Linked DNA regions of Homo sapiens: region 2 is linked to region 1. The links are contacts of gene promoters, found by promoter capture Hi-C in blood cells and fetal thymus (Javierre and others, 2016). All regions are on one chromosome and are shown on one strand. Each heading gives the region's core, a stretch centred on a gene start or on the middle of the fragment in contact. The rest is flanking DNA. Distances are from core to core; before and after follow the strand shown. Region 1 holds the start of LRRC10 (leucine rich repeat containing 10). Region 2 has its middle 35 kb from the start of MIR1279.

Region 1 (6,995 bases), core at 2,100-4,599:
CTACTAAAAATACAAAAAATTAGCTGGGCGTGGTGGCGGGCGCCTGTAGTCCCAGCTACTTGGGAGGCTGAGGGAGGCTGAGGCAGGAGAATGGCGTGAACCCGGGAGGCGGAGCTTGCAGTGAGCCGAGATAGCGCCACTGCACTCCGGCCTGGGCGACACGGCAAGATTCTGTCTCAAAAAAAAAAAAAAAAAATTGATTGAAAATCTACAGTGAAAACATTTTTGGAAAGCAAATTCAACAGCGAACACTTGACCATACCATTTGAGAAATGTTCTTTGTGTATTGACTGTTTTAGAAGAAAACAGCTTGATTATGGGCCAAAATGTTTATAATTTGACTACTGATTCAGACCAGTTAGCTCTTTAGATGACAGTTCTGTATGGATCAATTGGCTTCACTCTGTTTTATGGTTATAGTCTGCAACTACAGAATGGCCGATTAATCTTGGGAAGGGTAAGACAGGGTCAAAAGAAAGTCAGAAATCTATAAACCTTGCTATAGATTAAGCTTAGAATGCAAGTTCTGTTGACAAAAGTTTCTAGCATCAGCTGAGTATAATTTGGCTTCCGTCATTAGGAATGAGATAAATCCTAACTGTCCAACAGAAATATGGACTTGTTTCTAAAGGAGTTAAATATGTTTGACCTGAAAGTTTAAACCTATTACATTAAATGATTAAAGGGACCTTTTTTGGCAGTCTGATCAATGGGTTGCAAATGCTCTGCAGATGGGAGGTGACGATAGGAAGGAATTATGCAACATCATCCTTCCTCTAGTTTAGCAGGAAATATTTCTGGTAGGAAGACATACATGAAAATAGGTCTGCTGTGTAATGTCATTTTAGAACCAAACTTTGTTGGGTTAAGATGCTTTTACAGAAAACATCCTTTTAAAAACTTGGTACTGTATGTTTTAGTTAAGATAACACTTTTTGTGTCCTTGTTTGCTGAAAACGTTCAAGTACATAAAGAATTGTATTATTAAATTACCCACTGACAACAATTTCTTTAAAGTTTATATATTTGTGGGAAGGTCACAATTTACATACTTCCAAAAAACAAAATACCTTGGTTTATACATTGTCAAAACAGTCTGTAAAAATCAAAACAAATTGAAACAAAGGCAGAGATACTAGGCGAAAGAGGCAGAGACTTCCTATATACACTACAACTTCCTATTCAAATTTCAAAGTGCTTGTTTCAAGAGAACACATTTCTCACCTACTACCTTTAAACTAACATGCTTCTGGAAATGTGGTTTTCCTCCAAGGACAGGGATTCAATTTAGCTCAGCTCTGGCTCATTAGTGTGAATAAACAGAAGGGCTTTGCTTCAGGGAGGTAGACAGGAATCACAACAAGGCTTGACTTTAATGAGACCACATTACCACAGAGGTTCTCTTTTCCAGATGACTTCCAACATTGTCAGTGACAGTCAACTGTTGGGAGCAGATCTTGGGACAAACCTTTTAGGGAAAATGAACTAAATCAGCATGAGCCACTGTCAAGTTTAAGGTGACAGCTGAAGGCTGGGTGTGGTGGCTCATGCCTGTAACCCCAGCACTTTGGGAGGCTGAAGCAGGAGCATCGCTTGAGCCCAGGAGTTTGAAACTAGCTTGGGCAACATAGCAAGACCTCATCTCTACGAAAAAATTAAAGACTTAGCCAGGTGTGCACATCTGTAGTACCAGTTACTGGGCAGGCTGAGGCGGGAGGAAGGCTTGAGCCCAGTAGTTCGGGGCTGCAGTGAGCCATGATTGTGCCACTGCACTCCAGCCTAGCAACAGAGTGAGACCTTGTCTCTAATAATAATAAAAGGGGCAGCTGGAGTCCACCAAGAAGTATTGTCCATCAGGGATCTTTTCAGCAGGCACTAAACTGCTGGGGAAAGAGTTTCATCTTGAGCCTTTACAACAACAAACAACTTTTTTCTGTGAATCTGACTGATTGCCTAGGTAGAAATGTCCTTTTCGGTGGCCTCAGTGATACATTGATACTGTTTATGGTCATTTACAGTAAAGAAAATATGTCCTGCAAAGAGACAGACCACCAGAATATTTAGTTCTATGGCAAATACCTTATTTGAGGAGCTCATGAGCTTCATGACCAGTCACTTCTGGAGAGTGCAGGAGTTCAGAGTGTCCCAGCCCCTTTTGCTCTTCAGTGTTTCAAAATACATGTGTGGAGAAGCTGTTTTCTTGCAAAGAAGTTATGATCTCTGGATTGTCATGCCATCATTGGCACACAACTCCCCTCTGGAAGAGGAGCTGTTTGCCAGAAATATTTTCTCAGTGTGATTTATGGCATTCCACCTGGCTCTCTCCATCAGTCTCTACTAGCAGAGCCACTCCCAAATGACCCAGAGCCATCCTTTCCACTCCAATGGAGAGGCTTCCAGAACATGCTGCAGTTGGGTCCTTGGCATTGACTTGCAACTGAAGCTCCTCAGGAGTTGGTAGGAGGAAGTAGAGGGACTGGTGCCTGTAGCTCCTGGCTTTCCTCTCTGACCAACGCATAGCGCCTGGCTTTTCTAGGGTCGGGCTCTGGCGTCTCCTCTGCCCATCTCCCCACACGGCGCACACCTTTGGCCACCTTGGGTGCGTTCCTGCAAGGATTGTGGTCATAGATGACCAGCTTCAGACTTGACAGGTGCGCCAGGCTGGGGAAGTAACGGATGCTGTTCCAGTCCACATCAATCACCTCCAGGAAGGGCATGTGAAGCAGCACAGTGGGAAAGTCAGTTAGCCGGTTGCCCGAGAGCCAGATGGTCCTCAGCTCCTGGAGGCGCCGGAGCTGGCCTGGCAGCAAACGCAGGGCGTTGGAGCCGGCATGCAGAGTCTTAAGGAGACTCAGCTCACAGACCACATCCGGCAGCTGGGTGAGGCAGTTGGCCTCGATCCACAGGGTCCTGAGGTTCTGGAGCAGGCTCAGCTCACTGGGGAGGTCGCAGAGTTTGTTGTTGCCCAGGTAGAGGATGCAGAGCTGTTTCAAGGTGCACACCACCTGGGGCAGAGCCTTGAAGTTGTTGAAATCCAAGGCCAGAATCTGCAGGTTCTGTAGCTGCCCCAGCTCCGGAGGCAGGCTATTGAGGTGGTTGTCGCTCAGGTAGAGCTTGACCAGCTCCCTGAAGGAGCACACGTGCAGGGGGAAGCGGCGTAACTGGCTCCCACTCAGATCCACCATCTTGTCCAGCGGCATCTCACGGAGGTCCCTGACCACATAGTTCTGGCAACGGTCAGCAGGGATGAAGGCCACGAGGGCCCTGATGGTGTTCCCCATGCGGAGGCTGGGGGCATGGCGAGCCCCAGAGGACAGACTCACTGAGCGGGGCTGGCTCAGCTGACTGCTCTGGGGCCTATCCTACCCTCCCATTATAACTTGGGGATTGCATGACAAAAGCCAGTCACTTTGACAGAGAAAAGTGCTCCTGATAGCAACTTGAGTGTCCGGCGACAGCGCAACAGTCCGGCAGGGGCTGGGAGGCCATGTCTGACTCACATGCTTGCCTTTAATCACCTAAGCCCCAATCCCCTTTATCAACCTTTTTTCATTTCAAGCTGAAAATAGCTTTGCTGTTTTTTTCCCTAATGATAAAATATTAACACATTACATAAAGGTGTAAAAGAAGAAAATGAAAAACACCCATAGTTCTATTACCCAGAGATAAATACTGTACACATTTGCATGTGTCCTCTAGTCTTTTCGCTATAAGTAATCATTTGTTTTTTAAAATTGCACTTTAGGAGCTTTTTTTTTTTTTTTTTTTGACAGGGTCTCATTCTGTCACACAGGCGGGAGTGCAGTGGTGCAATCTTGGCTCACTACAGCTTCTACCTCCCTGGCTCCAGCAATCCTCACACCTCAGCCTCCTGAGTAGCTGGGACTACAGGTGCACACCACCGTGCCCAGCTAATTTTTGTATTTTTTGTAGAGATGAGGTTTCGCCATGTTGCCCAGGCTGGTCTTGAACTCCTGGGCTCAAGAGATCTGCCCGCCCTGGCCTCTCAAAATGCTGGGATTACAGGCGTGAGCCATGGTACTTGACCAGGAACCTTATTTTTTAATCATGACGTATCATGGACATATTTTCATGTTTGCAGATATCTATGCAATTATTTTAAACCCCTGCATAGTATTCCATTACATGGATGTGCAGTAATTTAAACAGTTTTCTGTGGTTAGGCATCTAGGTTGTTTACAAAGCATGACTATTATAAACATCCATGTGCATACAGATGTGAGCAGCAATCCACTCATTTCTTTAGAAACCGTCCTTAGAAGTGTTGCTGGAGCAGGCCAGGTGTGGTGGCTCACGCCTGTAATCCCAGCACTTTGGGAGGCCAAGGTGAGCCAATCACTTAAGCCCAGGAGTTTGAGGTCAGCTTAGGCTACATGGTAAAACCCCATCTCTACTAAAAAAAACAAAAATTAGCTGGGTGTGGTGGCACACACCTATAATCCCAAGTACTTGGGAGGCTGAGGCAGGAGAATGGCGTGAACCCAGGAGGCGGAGCTTGCAGTGAGCCGAGATTGCGCTACTGCACTCCAGCCTGGGCGACAGAGCAAGACTCCATCTCAAAAAAAAAAAAAAAAAAAGTGTTGCTGGATCATAGATATGCATCATTTACAGGTTTTTCATTGATGGCTCCTCTGTACCCCACCAAATCTGAGCCAGTACACACACCCACCAGCAATGGTTACAGGTTTCTAATTTCTCATGTCTTCATTCTTATCAGATGATATCTTTCCACAGTTTAAAAACTTGCCTTTGACAAAAGATAAGTAGAAAAGCAGAAGAAAGAGAAGCAAGCTAGCCTTCTGCATGTTAAATAAATTCGGATGTATTCCTACAGTGCACCTTTGTCAGGTATGTTTGACCACCCATTAAAGGTTTGTGTTTCCCTTCCACAGTGTCCAGTTGTTCCAGACAAGCAGCTGTCCAGCCAGGACAATTTCCTAGTGCTGGTCTACAGGGGAAACTCTTCAAGTTCTGGCCAAAGTAATGTGGGCAGAAGTGTTAGATGTCACCTCTAGACTTGGTTCATTGTAAAACAAACCTTTTGCCCTTCTCCACACTCTCCTTCCCCATCTACTGGCTGGATGTTGTCACCCAGAGTGACTATAGCAGCCACCAAGTATATGGAAGTCATATGTTGCAGGTGGCAGGGCCGTGGTCATCCTAGATTCCTGAATAAGTGCTAAGAGCAAAACATCTCCTTACCCTCCTCACTCCCACTTGATCCCCAATAGGATTGAGGTAAATGAGAAATAAATGTTAATTATGTGAAGTCATCGAGATTGGGGGCTTATCTTTTATACTACTTTATACATACAGCAGTTGCTAAAAATAAGGAGGCAAATCCACATATACTGATATGGGAAGTGATTCCGGATAAATAAAGTAGGGAGGGAAAAAAGCAAATTTCAGAATAGTTTTTTAATGATTCCCATCTGTGAAAAAATATATCTTTGTGTGTGCATAAAAATATCTGTAAGAAATAATGGTGATTAACTCTGGAAAATCTACCTGAGGGTTTGTGGGTGATAGGGATGCTGACTTTTCCATTTACATCCTTTTGTACTCTTGATTTTTTTAAAAAACTAGAGGCACTTATCATTTTAAATTTAAAAACTCTAGTCCAAAAACAACCAATCCATCAGCCTACCTGCTCTCTGGATAGAGTTTCAGGGTGGGTGAGGGAGCCTGGCACACCCTTGCTCCGCGTCCAATGACTTTGCTGCTGAATTGCTTGTAACGGACCACACTGTTGAGAAGCACCTCGTGAATGGCGATTCTACAGAGCTGTTTGGTGATGCAGCAGAGCTACCCACTTTCTGCTCACAGGTCATGACTGAAGCCAGTGTTCTTCCTGGACTTTCTACACATTGAATGTCAAGGGCTATTATCTTGAGCCCTCTTCTTGCTTTGCTTATTTGTATTAAAATAACTGGCCTGTCAACTCTGCTTTACTGCTATATTTAGCATGGTCAGTGGTGACCACAAATGGTTATGAAGCAGCTGCCCTAGTGTCATCCCTAGAAATGATAATGATAATAATGTTGCTACCAGGTGCCTTATATATAATCTATTCTTGCAACACCAGCCAGATAAATATGTTTTACCTTACTTTTCAGATGAGAAAACTGTGTGTGGTTCAGAGAGGTTTAATGATATTATCAAATATTGACTGAACACCTACTATGCTTTAGATGCAGGTAATCAAATGAGTAACAAGATAGATAAAACCCTGATCTCACACAGTGTACAATTCTATCAGGGTAGGCTCCTGTTGAACCATACAAGGTGACAAACTTTGCCCTGCCAAACGGAATTTCCATGCAGCACTTTAGATAACAAAACACTTGAAGAAGATCTCCTACGTGAAAATCAGAGATTGAAATAAGAATGTTTAAAATCAAGACAAAAAAATGAAGTGAATAGAAGAAAATAATAAACTATAACATAATATTTTCAGAGAGTTAATGATAGCACTTGCGTGCTGGGTGTGGTATTATTAGGTCATTTAATCCTTACAGCAATCCTAAAATGTATGTACTGTTATTGTTTCCACTTGATAAAGAAAGAAATTGGGGAACAAGGAGTTTATGCAACCTGAACAAGCTAGCGCGCAGCCGAGCAGGGATCTGAACCCAGATCATCTTGCTCTACAGTCTGTGTTCCAAATACTGTGCCTTTCTTGGATGACATAACATCCATAAAAAGAGTAGGATGCTATTAGAAAGAAAGAAATATTCTAAGAATAAGAAAGGGCTCTTGGAAATAAAGATATGAAAAAAGCACAATTAAAAATAAAATAGAAGAAAAACAGAAGGTGTTTCCTCAAAAAATTAAAAATAGAATTACCAAATGATCCAACAATTCCACTTCTGGGTATATATCCAAAGAAAATAAAAATAAAAACAGGATCTTTTTTTTTTTTTTTTTGAGACAGAGTTTCACTCTTGTTGCCTAGGCTGGAGTGCAATGACACG
Region 2 (6,995 bases), core at 4,496-6,995, 300 kb before region 1:
GTCTATAGTTCTTTTTATATGTTGCTGCATTCAGTTTGCTTGTATTTTTTGAAGGCTTTTGCATCCATCTTTGTAAGAATTATTGGTCTGTGCCTTTCTTTTCTTGTAATGTCTTTGTCTGGTTTTGGTATCAGGGTAATATTGGCCTTATAAGACCTATTGGGAACTATTTCCTTGTCTTCTGTACTTTGGAGAGTTTGTGAAGAATTGTTACTAATTTTTTTATTCATTCACATTTAGTGTTGTTATTGATATAGTTGGATTACATTGCCATTTTGCTTTTCATTTTCTATGTCTCATATCTTTATTTTGCTATTTCTTCATTACTGCTTTCTTTTGCCTTTGGTGAATATTTTTAATGAAACATTTTAATTTTCTTAATTATTTTTCTCTATTTTAAAAAGTTTTTTTAGTAGTTGATCTAGGCTATACCTTATATACCTTGACTTATCAGAATCAGCTTCTGATTTATAATTGCTTAATTTCAGTGGTGTATAAAAATGTTAATCCTATATAGCTCTATTCCCCTCTTCCCCTACGTTTCTATCTGTAATTATTTCCTTAACTCAATACAACTTTGCTCCCATCCACCTCCTTTGTGCTGTGTAATATACTTGCCAGTATTCCAAACTGGACATGTCAAATAATGTACAAACTCTGGGTACTGATCTCCTACCTCCTCCAGGGTTTGTTATTACTCTTTGATTTTCCATTTGTTTAGTGACTTGCTGAAAGTCAGTAAACTATTTTGCCTCCCACAGTGTTAAGCATCTGCACCTTGCTTTTTAATGTTTAAATGTATCCTGCAGACATGCTGTATCTGTATATAATTAACTTCCTTGATCTTATTTATGACTCCATATTATCTCATTTTATGTGTGTGACATGATTTATTTAATGTTTCCTCTTCAATGTATTTAAGTTTTTCCCAGTGTTTTGCTATGATAAATAATGCCAAGGAGAATAACTTTATACATGTCATTTTACACGTGTGACTATATATATTTATGAGACATAATCCTAGAAATGGATTGGCTGAGTAAATTTGTAGTTTTGACAGATAACAAAATTGCCAAAATGATCTTGAAGAGATTGTACCAGTTCATTTTCCCACTAGCAAGATATGAGAGTGTTTCCCCTTACCCTTACCAACATAGGATTTTGTCAAGCATTTTGATTTTTGCCAACTAATTAGATCAAAAGTAGCATCAGTTTGTAGTTTTAATTCACATTTCTTATATTACGAGGGTTATTAAGTATCTTTTTATTTATTTAAAAGCCATGTGTATTTCCTTTTCTGTGTCAGTTGTCTGTTACTCATTTTTTTCATAGGGTTGTTGGTCTTTTTCTTATCAATTTATATTCTCTCCTTTATAAATTCAGATGATCAGTTACCTTATATTTGATACAAGCAGCAAAGATTTTCCCAGTTTGTCATTTATCTTTGTCCACAATGTTTGAGCCATGGAGAATGTGTGTGTGTGTAAGTAAACTTACTAATCTCTTAAGGCTTCTATATTTCCACTCAGAGGTTTTCTTTTTAAAATTTTCCCATAATTTTTAAAATCCTTTTTTATGTTTACTATTTAAATATTTGATCTATCCATAATTCATTTTCGTATAATATGTGAAGTATGGATATAATTTATTTTTTCAGCTAGCTCTTCATTTCCTACAATGCCATTTATTGAATAATCCTTATTTTGCCCTATTGATTTGAAATTTTGCCATTTTCATACACTAACTTTTTTCAGTGGATATGTACATATTTATCAACCTCCTATTCTACTCCTTTGATATCTATATTTATTCATATGCAATTACCACATTGTTTTAATTATTATAGCTTTAGAATATGTTTTACTATATAATCGGGTTAATCCCCCTTTATTATTCTTGCCTTTAAGGTTTATGTCTATTATTGCTTATTCATTATATTAGTTATTTATTGCTGTATAACAATTTTCCCTCCAAATGTAATCGCTTAAATAATAAACATTTATTTTCTCATCATTTTTGTATGTCAGGAGTTTAGGAGTCACTTTCCAGGGTAGTTTTGGCTCAGGGTGTCTCATTAGATTGTAGAAAAGATATCAGCTGGGGATGGAGTCATCCAAAGACTTGACTGGTGCTGGAGGATCTACTTCCAAGTTAGTTTTAGCAAGAGGCTTCTGTTCCTCACTTGTTGTTCCTCACTCAGTAACTCACTACATGGACCTCTCCATAGAGCTTTTTGAATATTCTGACATTACAACTGACTTCTCCCTGCACAAATGATCCAAGAGAGAGAAAGCAAGGAGAAGGACACATAATTTTTATGATTTAATGTCAGAAATGGCACACTGTCACTTTATCATATTCATTAGAAGTAAGCTAGTCACACTTTAGGGAGAAGGGAATTAAACTGTACTTCCTAAGGAATTTTTAGACATTTTAAAATCACCATATTCATTTTTCTGTATAAACTTTAGAATTTATCTACTTTCAAAAAATAAAACCAATCTTCTTGATATTTTCATTAGGATCTATTTAGATTTGTAGGCCAACTTTGAGAGAACTGATATTTTTATATCAGTCTTCCTTAATCAAGAATATAATAGACTTTTCCATTTGTTCAAGTTTTATGTTCCTTAACACCTTTTTTCTTTCATATAGATCTTATGTGTCTTTTATTAGATTTATTTCTGGATTTTTAAAAAATTATTTTATTGCTATTGAAAGTAAAATATTTTCAACATAGTATTGGAAGTTCTGGCCAGGGCAATTAGGCAGGAGAAGGAAATAAAGGGTATTCAATTAGGAAAAGAGGAAGTCAAATTGTCCCTGTTTGCAGACGACATGATTGTATATCTAGAAAACCCCATTGTCTCAGCCCAAAATCTCCTTAAGCTGATAAGCAACTTCAGCAAAGTCTCAGGATACAAAATCAATGTACAAAAATCACAAGCATTCTTATACACTAACAACAGACAAACAGAGAGCCAAATCATGAGTGAACTCCCATTCACAATTGCTTCAAAGAGAATAAAATACCTAGGAATCCAACTTACAAGGGACGTGAAGGACCTCTTCAAGGAGAACTACAAACCACTGCTCAAGGAAATAAAAGAGGATACAAACAAATGGAAGAACATCCCATGCTCATGGGTGGAAGAATCAATACCGTGAAAATGGCCATACTGCCCAAGGTAATTTACAGATTCAATGCCATCCCCATCAAGCTACCAATGACTTTCTTCACAGAATTGGAAAAAACTACTTTAAAGTTCATATGGAACCAAAAAAGAGCCCGCATCGCCAAGTCAATCCTAAGCCAAAAGAACAAAGCTGGAGGCCTCACACTACCTGACTTCAAACTATTCTACAAGGCTACAGTAACCAAAACAGCATGGTACTGGTACCAAAACAGAGATATAGATCAATGGAACAGAACAGAGCCCTCAGAAATAATGCCGCATATCTACAACTATGTGATCTTTGACAAACCTGAGAAAAACAAGCAATGGGGAAAGGATTCCCTATTTAATAAATGGTGCTGGGAAAACTGGCTAGCCATATGTAGAAAGCTGAAACTGGATCCCTTCCTTACACCTTATACAAAAATCAATTCAAGATGGATTAAAGACTTAACCGTTAGACCTAAAACCATAAAAACCCTAGAAGAAAACCTGGGCATTACCATTCAGGACATAGGCATGGGCAAGGACTTCATGTCTAAAACACCAAAAGCAATGGCAACAAAAGCCAAAATTGACAAATGGGATCTAATTAAACTAAAGAGCTTCTGCACAGGAAAAGAAACTACCATCAGAGTGAACAGGCAACCTACAAAGTGGAAGAAAATTTTTGCAACCTACTCATCTGACAAAGGGCTAATATCCAGAATCTACAATGAACTCAAACAAATTTACAAGAAAAAAACAAACAACCCCATCAAAAAGTGGGTGAAGGACATGAACAGACACTTCTCGAAAGAAGACATTTATGCAGCCAAAAAACACATGAAAAAATGCTCACCATCACTGGCCGTCAGAGAAATGCAAATCAAAACCACAATGAGATACCATCTCACACCAGTTAGAATGGCAATCATTAAAAAGTCAGGAAACAACAGGTGCTGGAGAGGATGTGGAGAAATAGGAACACTTTTACACTGTTGGTGGGACTGTAAACTAGTTCAACCATTGTGGAAGTCAGTGTGGCAATTCCTCAGGGATCTAGAACTAGAAATACCATTTGACCCAGCCATCCCATTACTGGGTATATACCCAAGAGACTATAAATCATGCTGCTATAAAGACACATGCACACGTATGTTTATTGCAGCATTATTCACAATAGCAAAGACTTGGAACCAACCCAAATGTCCAACAATGATAGACTGGATTAAGAAAATGTGGCACATATACACCATGGAATACTATGCAGCCATAAAAAATGATGAGTTCATGTCCTTTGTAGGGACGTGGATGAAATTGGAAATCATCTTTCTCAGTAAACTATTGCAAGAACAAAAAACCAAACACCGCATATTCTCACTCATAGGTGGGAATTGAACAATGAGAACACATGGACACAGGAAGGGGAACATCACACTCTGGGGACTGTTGTGGGGTGGGGGGAGGGGGGAGGGATAGCATTGGGAGATATACCTAATGCTAGATGACGAGTTGGGGTGCAGCGCACCAGCATGGCACATGTATACATATGTAACTAACCTGCACATTGTGCACATGTACCCTAAAACTTAAAGTATAATAATAATAAATTAAATTAAATTAAATTAAATTAAAAAAAAGAAAGTAAAATATTTTATTTTCTCTCCTAGCTGGTTGTTGTTTGTATATATGATGGTTATTGATTTCTAACATTGTATCTATCTAAAACTATGTGATTGTATCATCTCCTTGTGGTAGATTGAACACAGGGCCACAATTTCTTCCTAATCTGACATCTGTGCCCTCGTAATGTAATGTTGTAGATCCTATCATCAAGAAGTAAGGTCTGTTTTCTTCACTCCTCAATTCTGGATTGGCCATATCATTCACTTTGGTCATGAAACATTAGCAAAGATGACACAACCAGAAGCTTGAAAAGTGTTTGTGGATTAGGGCTAGACCTCAGTCTGCTCTTGGAAATCTGCCACTATGTGAATAAACCTAGGCTAGCCTTCTGGATGATAAGAGACTAGCTGCCTCCTATGATTCTAGACAACAGCCTGCCTACTGTTAGACGTATGAATGAAGCTATCTGAAATCACCTAGCTGCCAACCAACCACTAACTACGGACATCTGAGAAAACCCAGCAATCAGCCAGGGTGGCCTAGACCAGAAGAGCTGCAGTCCACCAAATCATAAGTGAAATAAATGATTATTATTTTAAACCACTGCTACTTTTTGGGGTAATACACAGCAAACACAGACAAACTATTCAAAATACTAAATAAATGTAATAAAAATATTGGAAGGATCCAAATGTCCATCAATGGGAAATTGGTTAAATAAACTATAGTACATCCAAACAATGGCAATAACGGGGAGCACTGGCAAAGAAATTTGTGTATGAAATATTGTGCTGTGAAAAAAAGCAAATTATTCAATAGTATATATTGAATTATCTGACTTACCAAAAAATATGTGTGGTTTCTTTGGGGTGGGATTCTGAGGGAATTCACTTTCTTTTTAAAAATGGTTTTACCTGGGCTTGGTGGCTTATGCCTGTAATCCCTGCACTTTGGAAGACTGATGTGGGAGGATCACCCATGGCCAGGAGTTCAAAACTAGCCCAGGCAACACAGTGAGACGATCTCTACAAAAAATGAAAATATTAGCCAGGCGTGGTGGCACATACCTGTAGTCTCAGCTACTTGGAAGATTCCTCCAGCCCAGGAGTTTAAGGCTGTAATTAGCCATGATTACTCCACTGCTGGGCAACAGAGTGTGACCCTGTTTCATTTAAAAAAAAAAAAAAAAGTCTGTTGTTTACAATTTTGCAACATCTATATTCCATTTACAATCATAAAACAAAACAGTATTGAGGTCCAGGTAACTTGTGATACACCCAGAAAAAATAATTAAAGATAAGTGGTACATTTTCATGCCTGGTTTATTTTTTCTTTTTCTTAAAATGACAGAATATCCAGCTCAGTATGAATATTAGGAAACCAGATAAATATATTTCTCACTGGCCTGTTTTGTCCATACCAAGCCTCTAATTGTCAAGATGATTCTGTTGAAAGATTCTCAATGAGAGGTGGAAAAAAAGAAGTAGGTTTTACTTTTAAGAAAGTTCAACAAATTTTTTCAAATTTTTTGAAATTCAAGAAGTTTTTTCATTATATCTAGCCAATCTATTTATTATAAATAATATTTTTTATTTGCGAATTTCATAGCAGTTGTTTAAAAGCTTTTACTTTGAGGTAATTATATCACCAGTGGCAGCCAAGAAATAACAGAGAAATTCTGTTCAGTCTTCCTCCAGCATCCCCCAATGTCAATATCTTCCACAACTACAGTACAGTCTCAAAATCAAGAAATAGATATTGGTGCAATCTATAGAGCTTATTTATTTATTTATTTATTTATTTATTTATTTATTTATTTATGAGACAGGGTCTCAATCTGTAACTCAAGCTGAAGTGCAGTAGTGTGATCACAGCTCACTACAGCCTTGACCTCCTAGGCTCCAGTGATCCTCCCACCTCAGCCTCCCAAGTAGCTGGGATTACAGGCATGTGCCACCTGGCTAATTTTTTTTAAAAAACCTTTTGTAAAGATGGGATCTCCCTGTGTTGCTCAGGCTGGTCTTGAACTCCTGGGCTCAAGTGATCATCCTGCCCCAGCCTCCCAAAGTGCTGGGATTATAGGCGTGAACCACTGCACCCAGCCCTATAGAGCTTATTTAAATTTCACCAGTTATACATATACTTGTGTGTGTGTGTGTAGCTCTATGCAATTTTAGTACATGTAGAAACTTGTATAACCACCACCACAGT

Evidence for each region. The method cuts DNA at HindIII sites, captures the fragments that hold promoters and counts their contacts. A CHiCAGO score of 5 or more calls a contact.
Region 2: a fragment that was not itself captured here is called in contact with the fragment with the promoter of LRRC10 in region 1 in 1 of 17 cell types (total CD8 T cells); the score reaches 5.0 in total CD8 T cells.

Annotation. Positions count from the first base shown.
Region 1 is chr12:69,607,558-69,614,552 of GRCh38, forward strand. It overlaps LRRC10 (leucine rich repeat containing 10), which reads right to left and starts at 3,350. Exons shown (of 1, transcript NM_201550.4): 1 at 1,007-3,350. The coding sequence starts at 3,281. The coding sequence ends at 2,448. The HindIII fragment of the contact is 9,863 bases long and covers 510-6,995 here.
Region 2 is chr12:69,304,525-69,311,519 of GRCh38, forward strand. No RefSeq gene overlaps it. Among named protein-coding and RNA genes, the nearest start is that of MIR1279, 35 kb to the left of the region's middle. The HindIII fragment of the contact is 1,318 bases long and covers 5,087-6,404 here.